Regions from separate parts of the Homo sapiens genome. Here all the other regions are linked to region 1. The links are contacts of gene promoters, found by promoter capture Hi-C in human tissues and cell types (Jung and others, 2019). All regions are on one chromosome and are shown on one strand. Each heading gives the region's core, a stretch centred on a gene start or on the middle of the fragment in contact. The rest is flanking DNA. Distances are from core to core; before and after follow the strand shown. Region 1 holds the start of COPS8 (COP9 signalosome subunit 8). Region 2 overlaps COL6A3 (collagen type VI alpha 3 chain). Region 3 has its middle 98 kb from the start of COL6A3.

Region 1 (3,922 bases), core at 1-2,500:
TCCTCCAGGGGCCTAGAAGGCCAAAAATGAAAACAAAACAAAACAACACAAAATTTTAAAAACCTCATTTACCCTTTAACTTTCATTTTTAAAATAATATTTTATAAATGCTAATTTTAAAAGTAAGCCTTTTTAGTCTAAGACTATAAGTAATCTTATAGTCCTATTATAGATTTAGAAACAGCTTAGAGAAGTATCAAACACGAAAATTCTGAGTATTAAGTTTATATTCGTCATCAGCTTTGATTTATCTCCCTTTGGGCTTCAGTTTCTTTATACATTCAAGAATATGTAAGTGGATCCCCTTCCCCAGTTCTCAAATTCCCATTTAAATGATCTTACTATTATAAGAAACAAATTCGACAGATTCCTGAAGCATTCTGATTCTGCCCATTACATCAAGCGTCCTGAATAAGAGACAGAAAATCACCACAGCTGCGTTGCAAAGACAATTCTTTCCATTTTAACTCAACTGGAAAGTATCTATTATCTATTAGTGAGCTGCTGCTTCTGGATGTTGTCTCCTTTATTTAATTTTAAAACTAATGATATAAACCCTTTTTAAGTGTCTAAGAAAAACATTAACTTTAACAGCTGCATAACTTTCATCTGTCTTACTGAAGACAAAATGGCAAGCTAACTTGACAACATTACGAGAAAGGCTTTGTGAGTTAAAAAAAGGTTACAATGGTCACATTTTTCTTGGTGTGCGTGTGAGTTGCGGTGTGTGTGTTAGTGTGTGTGTGTATACCAAGATCTTTAATAAAACCCACTTTACTACCCTCTCCCAACCCGATACTGGGAAGGAAAGATGCCTAATTAATATGAGCTCATCGGTAGGTGCTGGAGCAAAGACGCACAGGGTTTTCGGGCTCACAAGCTGAAGACACATAACAAAAAGGTCCCGGCGAGTTCGGGGAGACCGGGCCCGGTCGGAGCAGGTTGCGGCGGTCAGGGATCCACACGTCCACCTCCCACGCCCGCCCCGTGAGCTCCCAAAGCCCGCTAGCCTCAGACCCCGTTACCCTGGAAACTGGTGCCGCCCCAGGGCCTAAGACTACTCCGCAGTTTCTCCCAGCGCGACGCAAAGGGTTACCTCGAGCTCCTGGTTCTCGCACTGATCCAGCAACTTTTTGAAACTAAAGGCGCTTTCCGCCATCACCGCCACTGGCATCTTCGCGGCCGGCCTCGCCGCTGCACCGTCCGGACAGCCAAACCCCAGACTGTCCCTCAGGCGTCGCGCCCGCGATGACGTTTAAAGCCGCCGTTGCCGCCGAGCGCCCCTGCGTACCAGACCGTCAGTTCCGGGGCGCCGTCAGACATCGCTGCGGCCGGGATAGGGCGCCGCCGTTCTGGCCGGCTTTCTCGGTGCCCTGGAGGACCTGGCCGGCTCCGCGGGAAGCTGTACTCAGAGCGCGCGGCCGCCCTCTGGCAGGGAGGAGTTCGTTGCACTTTTGAGGGTTCTTCACGAAGACATCCAATACATAGAAAACAAGTAACAGCAACAGTAACGAATTTTTAAATATTAAAATTGCTGGGGAACACGACGGATCCTGCAGCTGCTCGGCTGTCCCGGTCGTCAGTGACGCTAGGGCTCCGCACCGTACCCTGCATACCGTAGGTGCTCACGAAACGTTCGTGAGTTCCCTGCTCTGAGGAAACAAGCTTAAAAACTCAGAATCTAAGGTGTGAGTCTCCGCAAACCTGCTTGTTGGGCAGCGTCCCCCGCCCGGGCTAGCCCTGCACGCCCCACCCCGGAGCCACGCTTCTCCAGCCGGGACCCCTGCCTCCTTCCAGGCTATTCTCGGAACCGCAGCCAGAGGGAATTTTTTTTTCCTTTCCTGAAACGTAGAGCAGATCTGGTTACTCTTCTGCACAACGCCCTAAAATCTAGGGCCCTTCCCATCCCTCAGAATTTACATCTAATTCTCAGCTCCCCTCCGGCTTGCTGTAGCCATCCTGGCTTTTGTTTAGCACAGCACTTACTGTTAGTGACATTATATTGTATATTATTAACATATTTGTGTTTTACATCCCTCACTAGACCCCCAGGAAAGAGGCTTTGATGTGTTGCCTGCTGCAAGGCTGGCTGCATAATTTGTGGAGCTCAGAGAAAAGTGCGGAGCTTCCTTGTTCAAAAAACAGAAAGAAAGTGCCTCTGAGGTCATAAAATATAAAACTTTCTCTTTCCTCTCAGTTTCTCTCTTTTCATAGTGTTTTTATGTGTTATTTAATATCATTCCAAGAAAAATTTAGATTTAAATTGTTAGCATGAAGTTCACCATCCATCTTTACGTTGTGCAATGCCAGTTTTAAATACTAATATAAGTGCACTGATCTCATATGTGGAATCACAGAAATTATGCAATTTGTACTTCATAGCTTATACATGCATATAGATTTTGTTTTTACCAGAACCACGCTGGTAAAAACAGATGCTGCACAAAGTGAACTTGCCCGTTTTCATCGCACTTTACGTGCACGAATTCTACCTCTACTCTCGACCTGGGACTCACCGATGCGTAAGGAAGGACTGAAAAGCAAAAGAACTATGGACTGGCCTTTTGGCATGATCAGGTGTCTAATATAAAGAAGTGCATGAATAAGAAAATATATGATATGAGTGATGGTTAATACTGACTGTCAACTTGATTGGATTGAAGGATGCAAAGTATTGATCCTGGGTGTGTCTGTGAGGGTGTTGCCAAAGGAGATTAACATTTGAGTCAGTGGGCTGGGAAAGTTCGACCCACTGTTAATCTAGATGGACACCATCTAATCAGATGCCAGTGCAGCTAGAAATGTAAAGCAGACAGAAAAATGCGAAAAGAGAGACTGGCCTAGCCTGCCAGCCTACATCTTTCTCCCACGCTGGATGCTTCCTGCCCTCGAACATCAGACTCCAAGTTCTTCAGTTTGGGACTTGGACTGGCTCTCCTTGTTCCTCAGCTTGAAGACTGCCCATTGTGGGACTTGTGATCATGTGAGTTAATACTTAATAAACTCCTCTCTCTCTCTCTATATATATATATATAAATATATATATCCTATTAGTTCTGTCCCTCTAGAGAACCATGACTCATACAATATGGTTTCTTCATGCTTCTTAAGACACCATTGCCTTCTTTCTGCCTTCGAAACAAGTTTACTCTCTTAAGGGGAAAAGTGCGGCCTTTTGGGGTGTCAGCACCCAGCTCCCTCAGTTGTAGATACAGCACGAGTACCTTGTGCTCACTTTGAGTCTTGCTGGCCTCGCAACATCAGGGGTCCACAGGGAATTCAGTGTGCATGGTGCATTATGAATGCTGTATGGAACATCAGTGGCCACACGTAGAGGCCCGTTTCCCTGGCTCATGCTCCATTGTCTTAATGGACCTCACTTACAAACCACAAGTTTACAGATAAAATTATTAAGCATTTCAAGACAGAGACAGCCATCCTTGATTTTTTTTTTTTTTTTGGCGTAATCCACAACATCTCTGTGTGGAAATGATTGTTTAGTAATTCCCTGAATGAAATGTAAAGAAAAAAAAAAACACTTGTGTGTTCCTCAAGGAACTGCCAACATTAAATAGAAGGGCACATAAGTAGTTAGCAGAACTAGAGAGATCTTGGAGTAATAAAGCAACAGAGTTTCATCCACGGCTGCAAGGAAGAGAAGGACTGAGGGCAGTATGATTCTAAGATCACTTGACAGAACTATGAGGAGCAGGATTTTGAAGCTTGTAATAATGGTCTCTAACCCTTTTCGGGCAAAGAAATATTCAATAGAAGCCCTGCTTGGCTATTTGATCATTTAAAGGGAAAACTATAATGTGAACGCTTTGGCAGGTGCTTTGGGCCTCTAAGAGGTGGAAACCTACAAAGGTGGCTGTTTGCTGAATAGGAAATCCCGGTGAGGCTTTTGATACATATCACAGGT
Region 2 (3,922 bases), core at 607-3,106, 250 kb before region 1:
CAGGTTCACCCACAGGTCACTGTTCCTGTCTTCCAAAGATTAAAAACAAAAGCTTTGTTCAACAAAGCATTGAGAAAATCTGAAAAGCAGTTGCATTATAATCTGATGTCCAAGAGTCTAGAACTTGTTGAACTCTCCACTTGATTTTTCTTCTATCCCTGTCTTCTCTCTCATGTTGGATAAATATATCTTTAACTTAATCACCCAAATATTGCCAAATAGAACATATTGGCTTACCATGTTTTATGGATCCAATGCCATCATACTTTATGTTTAAAATCACTGGACATAGTTTGTCTGATATAGTTAATTCAACAATAATTATGGGCTAAATAAATGTTATGTGATTCATTTAACTTGTTGACAGATTAATTTTAATTTTCATGTTATTAGCATGCGGTTCAATTGTTTTCTTTGTTTTTTTTCTTTAGGTGAAAATGCTTTTTACTTGTCCCCAGATATCAGGAAACAGTGTGATTGGTTCCAAGGGGACCAACCCACAAAGAACCTTGTGAAGTTTGGTCACAAACAAGTGTAAGTGATTATAATTATTGTCTTAAAAATTGTAGCGCTGCAGGGAATGCACAGGTCCTCCAACCACCTCCTGACTTTATGGGATGAGGACCTTGAAATCCAGAAAATGTGACTTCCCAAAGGTAATGTGGGTCATGCTTCTCAAATAATCTGTTTTATCAGTTAGCTTTTGCCATGTAACAAGCTACCCAAAACTTAGTGGCTTAAAACAACAACCACCTATTTATTTTCTTACTTAATTTATTTAGAGACAGAGTCTTGCTGTGTTGCCCAGGCTGGACTGCAGTTGTGCAATCTTGGCTCACTGTAACCTCTGCCTCCTGGATTCAAGCAATTCTCATGCTTCAGCCTCCCGAGTAGCTGGGACTACAGGTGCATGCAGCCATGCCTGGCTAATTTTTGTATTTTTTTTTCAGTAGAGATGGGGTTTCGCCATGTTGTCCAGCCTTGTCTAGAACTCCTGAACTCAAATGATCTGCCTGCCTCAGCCTCCCAAAGTGCTGGGATTATAAGCATGAGCCACTGGGCCTGGCCAACAACCACTTATTTAATTTGCAATTCTGTGGGTTAGCAATTTTTGTTTGGGCTCAACTGGGTGGTTCTTCTGTTTTCTCCTTGGATCCCTTATGTTTGTGGTCAGCTGCTTGTCAGCTATAGAGCTGCTGGTCTAGAGTGGTCTCAGATGGGCTGGCTCATCTCTGCTCCATGTGGTCTCTCATTCTCAGCAGGCTAGCTTGGGTTTGTTCACCAGGTGACCTGGCAGGGTTCCCTGAGAGAAGACAAGTGTGCAAGGCCTCTTGTGACCTAGGTTAGAACTGGCACACTGTTACTTCTGCCACGTTCTATTGACCAAAGCATGTCCAAAGGCTAACCTAGATTTAAGAATGGAAAACTAGGCTTGATGGAAGGACTTGCCACATTACATTGAAAGGGCATGGGCAGAGAGAAGGTAGATAATTGAGACCATAGTTCCAAACAATTTACCGTATCTGGTGTGAAATGATTACGTAAAAGAAGGATTGGATACATCAAAAAATAGACTCCATGTCTTCTTAAAATTATTAATGCTGTGATAACATGTAATGATGGTAATAATAGGAAGTCATGTGCATGTTCTATGAAGACTGACGGGAGGGGTGGGAGTGGGCAGGACTGTGGCACCCATGCCGATGCTGCTGCCTGGCCCATGTGCCGTGTTTCATGCCCTGCTCCATCTCGGGTGCCAACCCTAGGAGCAAAGAGGGCAGTGGGGGCATGTAACAGAGGGCTAGCTGGGGTGATGTGGCTGCAAGAACTGAGCCCCTGCAGCGTGTCAGCAATGTGTGCTCCTTAAGAGAATGTCACAGTGTGTCATGCTTTGGAGGGAAGTGCAGATTCTGCAGATTCTGAACTTCGTACACAGATGAGATGTGAACGCAAATGATCCTTGAAAAATGACTATCTGGCTTACGACTAGCTGACTCTCAAGATGGGGAAAGAGAGCCCATCTCTTCCTACTGCAGACCCTTCTGTCTATCACCACTTAAGTCCTTCAGCTCTTTCTTTTGACCTCAGAAGGAGTGGCTTTAAATCTCAGCATAGCAAGAATGAATATCATTGCTAAGGCCACTAGGACCCTTATCGTGGCACTGGATGCTTCATTTAGCTTTGTAGCCTCCATTTTTCTAGGCTCTAATGATTCGTATTTTTTCTCTGAAACCTTCCCTGAAATTGGCTCAACCTTTTTATCTTTAGGAAAACAGAATGAATGAAGTAACCTAGTATTTGAAGTCTTATGATATTAACTTGAAAATATATTAATACTTCCTAGGACAAGTAGCAAGATATGACTATAAAATAATATATTTTCTTCTAAGATCAAGAAAGCTATGAAGTGTGGGTCCTTGTTGTTATGTCTGTTTGATTAGGCTGCTATTCTCTCTAGATATTGGTAATAGATCAAGAAATTGTAAAAAAAAATACACATACACAAAAATTAAGAGAAATAAAAAATATATATACTCCCAGTAATAAGCCCTGGGAGCAAAATAGTACATGCTAACTTTATAATTTTCCAGCTCAACATAGCATTTGATTGAGTGGATATTTTCTTATAATGTAAGTAGCTAACTACTGATTTCATTTAATTTTTGGTGTATGTTTTGGTTGGTTAATTGCTATAATGAGAACATTGTTGGATATTATTCATTATTGTCTCTTATTTTCTCTCTGCCTTTATTTTAGAAATTGAAAGATGTTTTTGTAGAACAATATAAGCTTCATTTTTAATGGTTCTATTTTTCAATATGCTGTTCCATATCTTTTTTTAGGGAGGCACAGATCCTTAAAAGAAGGAATTTAATATATGCACTGCTATACATAATCTATAAAAACTATTGCATGCATTTTGCTAAAACAAATTTAATGTAGCTCATGGGGTTATGTCTTTATTTATTTTAGATAGCAGGTAAAAGTAGAGGTAATATTTAATTTGTCTTAACAGAAATGTTCCGAATAACGTTACTTCAAGTCCTACATCCAACCCAGTGACGACAACGAAGCCGGTGACTACGACGAAGCCGGTGACCACCACAACAAAGCCTGTAACCACCACAACAAAGCCTGTGACTATTATAAATCAGCCATCTGTGAAGCCAGCCGCTGCAAAGCCGGCCCCTGCGAAACCTGTGGCTGCCAAGCCTGTGGCCACAAAGATGGCCACTGTTAGACCCCCAGTGGCGGTGAAGCCAGCAACGGCAGCGAAGCCTGTAGCAGCAAAGCCAGCAGCTGTAAGACCCCCCGCTGCTGCTGCTGCAAAACCAGTGGCGACCAAGCCTGAGGTCCCTAGGCCACAGGCAGCCAAACCAGCTGCCACCAAGCCAGCCACCACTAAGCCCATGGGTAAGAAAGCCCTTGCTAGGGCTGCCATCTTGTGACATCCTCATTTCCTGCTCCAGGGTGTGTTCCTCAAAGCCTGCATGTAACACACTCAGAATACAGTCCTTGATCTGGGCTTGTACACCTGGATGATGTATTTTAAGAGGTGTTGGTTAGGGATTCCAGCCTCCCACTCCCCATCCTGTGCCCTCAATCCTGTCTTGCGATAGGGATGGGAAGCTCTCATTCTCTCTGGAATGTCAGTGGGGGCACAGTTCACCTCACCTGAAAATTGAGTTGTCTTAAACTAAAGGGAAAAGTTTCCGTGTTGAAATAAGGTTTTAGCTCCTATTTAGGGAGTGAGAGAGACAGAAAGAAAAACGCTGCAGTTGGTTCTTAGGCAGCAAGGCAGATGTTTCTGGGCTGGTGTATGGAGCCGGACTCGCCTACCTTAGAACATGCCTTGAAAAGGTCTGGGGGAGCCCTTTGCAACTGCAAACTTTGTCTCTGCCTCATACCCACAGAAAAGGGG
Region 3 (3,922 bases), core at 749-3,248, 230 kb before region 1:
AAAAAAAAAAAAAAAAAAAAAACCAAGAGAGGCCAGCACGGTGGTTCACGTCTGTAATCCCAGCACCAAGGGAGACCGAGGCAGGTGGATCACTTAGGAGTTCAGGACCAGCCTAGCCAACATGGTGAAACCTCTCTACTAAAAATACAACAACAACAACAAAATTAGCTGGGCATGGTGGCACATGCTTGTAATCCTAGCTAGTAGGGAGGCTGAGGCAGGAGAATTGCTTGAACCTGGGAGACAGAGGTTGCAGTGAGCCGAGATCGCACCACTGCACTCCAGCCTGGTAACAGAACAAGACTCTGTCTCAAGAAACAAAAAACAAACAACAAAAAATCCCAAGACAGCCACCTTTGGGAAGACCTGAAGGAAGATTCCAGATCCAGAGAGGGCCTGGATCTGAGATCCTGGGTAGAGAAATGACTGTGACATGTTTGAGAAACAGCAAGATGGCCAGTGTGGCTGGAGTCAAACAAATAAGCGGATAAATTTTTGGAGTTGAAGTCTGAGAGAGAATGGCCAAGTCAGGCCCCAAAACTCTTTCATAACTAACGAGTTGTGGATTGTACTTTAATGTGATGGAAAGCCATTGGGAGCTTTAAGCCGGGCAGTCCTGGGTGTGACATGTGATTCTTTGAGGAGGCGGGGTAGTCAATCAAAAATTCTGCCATGCGTATTAGAACTTAGGATGCTATTGAACTTTGAAGCGGTGATATGAGGAAGACAGTTGAAGTTCAGAGGAGAGGGTGGGGCTAAGGATATACATTCAGCAGTTTGGAAATATACCATATTCGAAGCCTAGATTTATGGTGCGATTTCATTGCTTGAGAGTATAGATGAAGAGGGACAGGGAGTCAGGAGAGGCCTGTCTGTGCCCTGGCGGTTAGAGGTTGAGCAGAGAAGACAGGCTTGGTGAAAGAGGCTGAGGAGGAGTGTTTGTAGAAATAAGAAGAGAATCAGTAGAGACAGGTGTCATGCAAGGACAGCGTTGGCAGAAGCTGTGTCAAAATGAACAGAGCAGTCACCTGTGCTGAATGCTGCTCATGGTTTAGAAAACAGAGAGCAGGAAGGAGAGAGTATTCTTGGGGCTGTGGTATGTAGTGAGTTAGGATGCTCTCAGCAGCCAGGAACTGAAACCCCATCTCGCATTGGCTTAGATCACGAAGTCACTGGTTGTCCCCATTTCACAGAAATCCAGAGCACAGGCTGTGGGAGGAGTCAAAGATGCCATCAAGGACCCAGGTTTTCCCATCTCTCTGGACTATTTTCAGCTTGGGCCCCACTCTTAGGCTAGTAACAAGTCTCATGTGGACACAATGATATTTAAAGGAAGAAGGAAGACCATCCTTTCTGTGGCTTTTCTCCAGAAAGCTCCCTGGCAGATGTCCCCTGGCAGTCCATTGGTTGGAAATGGGTTGCATGCCTCTAAGCCAATGTTGGGAATAAGAATAGAATCCGTGGATCACCTGAGGTCAGGAGTTTGAGACCAGCCTGGCCAACATTGTGAAATCCCGTCTACTAAAAATACAAAAATTAGCCATGCATGCGTGGTGGTGCATGCCTATAATCCCAGCTATTTGGGAGGCTGAGGCAGGAGAATCACTTGAACCCAGGAGGTGGAGATTGCAGTGAGCCCAGATCATGTCACTACACTCCAGCCTGGGTGACAGAGCAAGACTTCGTCAAAAAAACAAAAAACAAAAAACAAAAACAACCGGAACCCCTGTTAGGTTAATTAAGCCCACCCCTGTGGAGAGACGCGGGAACCTGAGGGCTGTGGTGGGGAGGATATGGGAGGACTGCGTTCATCACTGCTCCCGTATAAGTTCATGTGTATGCAGCCATGACACACAGTCATCAGTGACATTTAAGAGTCTGTAGTTCACCCTATATAGGCATAGGTATAGGCATCACCTTCCCTACTAACTCCCTTGACAGTTTCCAAAAGAGGCAAAACAACAGAAACAAAGCTTTCTAGTTTTTGTTTAAGGGAAGCACTTAAAGTAATAAGACTTAATGACACGTAAAGTCTATTGTGGTTTCCTCACTGTGGGACAGGAAAACTGGGTCCTTATGTGACTGTCAACCTGACTGCCTCAACTAGACATGACTTTGCTGACTGTCTAGATTTGAATGTTGGGGGTCTGTGCCCATCATCCTAACCACACTTTTTTCCTGTCTTCTTCATTTGCTGGTGGCCTTCATTAATTCCTGGGCCAGGTCTAATGCTTGTGACCTAAGACAGTGATTTGGAAAACAGTACGAAGATTGAGTACAAGTTTAGGGCTGTGCAGAAGGACCTCAAGAGTGTCTCTATCTTTGTTTTTCTGTGAGGCAAAAGAGGACTTTGGCAATAGATTGCCTGGCCCTTATCTATACACAATGAGTCGTTTGTTGAATTTCCCACCTCATGGGGCGGGGGAACGAATGCTACTCAGTGTAAGATGCAACTTCAGGATAAGAAAGATAAATATTAACCGTTTCCAGAAAAAACTTATGCGTGTTTAATGATATTCAGAATAAAGGTCTCAAATTAGAATATATTCTAATTCTGTTTTATTCTATTCTATTCTAGTCTGTTTTAGAATATATTCAGAAAACTGTTTCTTTCCACGAGGTTGCCCTGGGAGAAGCTTGAGCTGAGGCCTGAGTCTGCTTAACATCAGGCTGTAACCAGCTGGCCAAACAGCTTTGATTTGTGAAGTCAGTGTCTGAGGGGAATTTATATGAGTGGCTCTAGGGTCTCTGCCACAAATAAATCACACAGGGACCTCTTTTCCTGAGACGACCGGAATGCAATGGAACAATCGGCTCAAATCCCTGTACTTATTTGAATTTCAATATAAAAATCCATTTTCACCTACAGCACGTTCATAAGCAGATCTCTGTTAGTTCACTTGCCCCTGAAGAGCTCTCTAGGATGGAAATCCGTTCCTGTCCCAGGATCCATGCTCCTGTCCCTGTGGCCATGTGATCTGAATTTCTCTTGCCTTTTAAGGAAACAGGCTCTGCTGCTGGCCTTGGTTCAGCCGCTGCATTCCAGCCTGCACACATGGAACGCATTGCCTGCCACTGAGCAGGACAGCCTCGCCAGCGTGGCAGAGAGCAGCACTAAAAATAGCGGGGTGCAGCTCAGCAGGCTCTGCCGCGCAGCCTGGCTGTCTTCTGTGGAAGTGGAGGCACTGTCTGCGGAGCCTCATCAGGACTCAGCTGATTCCCTTGTTTGGCTGAAGTTGTTACTCAAACCCCAACCCAAATTAATTGTTGATGTACAGAGAAAGGGCACCATTCTGGAGCCTCTCGGGGTCACTCCCTTTGTGACCTCCCTGAGCACAAGGCTTAGGCCTCCTTAGGCTCCAGGAGCAGGAGTGGGATTCTCACTAGACAATTTCAAAGTGGGTTGAATGTGTGATAACAGGGGATGTATTGGCAGCCAGGGCAGCCACTGCGATGGTGGCTCAGAGACCCCCCTCAGCCTCAGTCCCTTGGGGTCCTTTTGGAGCTCACGGAGCATACTTGGTCTAGGTGGAGTCACAGTCTTGTGTCTTCAAGGGCTGGGTGGGTCTCTTGGGCAGAGGAGGAGCAAAGCACTAGGGACTGCTGGGGCTTGAGGCAAATAAGGAAGAGGTGTCCATTCTAAAGGCATTGGGGTTTGAAGACTTGAATACACTCCTGCCAAATAAACGTCTTCTGGGCAACTCTGGCCCTTGAGCCACCAGCTTGCAATCTCTGGTTTAGAGGCACTGAGTTAAATGCACCTCTAAGTACATGTTTCTGTGTCTGGTCTTCTGTAGAGTGCTGCGCAAAGCTTCATCTGGCCTGGGAATGAATGCCCTTGCCCTTGACCAAAAGATCATTGAATGTGACCCCAACAGAAAGACTGTACAGATGACAGACCTAGGTTTTATAGTGAATGCAT

The links. Contacts are between HindIII fragments. The study calls those that stand out against the background at their distance.
Region 2: a contact is called between a fragment that was not itself captured here and the fragment with the promoter of COPS8 in region 1, in 1 of the 25 tissues and cell types used here (bladder).
Region 3: a contact is called between a fragment that was not itself captured here and the fragment with the promoter of COPS8 in region 1, in 2 of the 25 tissues and cell types used here (IMR-90 fibroblasts and aorta).

The regions. Positions count from the first base shown.
Region 1 is chr2:237,083,217-237,087,138 of GRCh38, reverse strand. COPS8 (COP9 signalosome subunit 8) reads right to left here and starts at 1,250. Exons shown (of 8, transcript NM_006710.5): 1 at 1,097-1,250; 2 at 1-12. The coding sequence starts at 1,174. COPS8-DT (COPS8 divergent transcript) reads left to right here and starts at 1,318. Exons shown (of 3, transcript NR_187934.1): 1 at 1,318-2,983. RefSeq lists enhancers at 415-1,309, 1,120-1,669, 1,310-2,204. The HindIII fragment of the contact is 6,775 bases long and covers 41-3,922 here.
Region 2 is chr2:237,335,627-237,339,548 of GRCh38, reverse strand. COL6A3 (collagen type VI alpha 3 chain) reads left to right here. Exons shown (of 44, transcript NM_004369.4): 39 at 432-534; 40 at 3,017-3,414. Among named protein-coding and RNA genes, the nearest start is that of COL6A3, 77 kb to the left of the region's middle. RefSeq lists enhancers at 2,765-3,265, 3,266-3,766. The HindIII fragment of the contact is 4,175 bases long and covers 1-3,922 here.
Region 3 is chr2:237,314,505-237,318,426 of GRCh38, reverse strand. No RefSeq gene overlaps it. Among named protein-coding and RNA genes, the nearest start is that of COL6A3, 98 kb to the left of the region's middle. RefSeq lists enhancers at 2,597-3,197, 1,797-3,922. The HindIII fragment of the contact is 4,187 bases long and covers 1-3,922 here.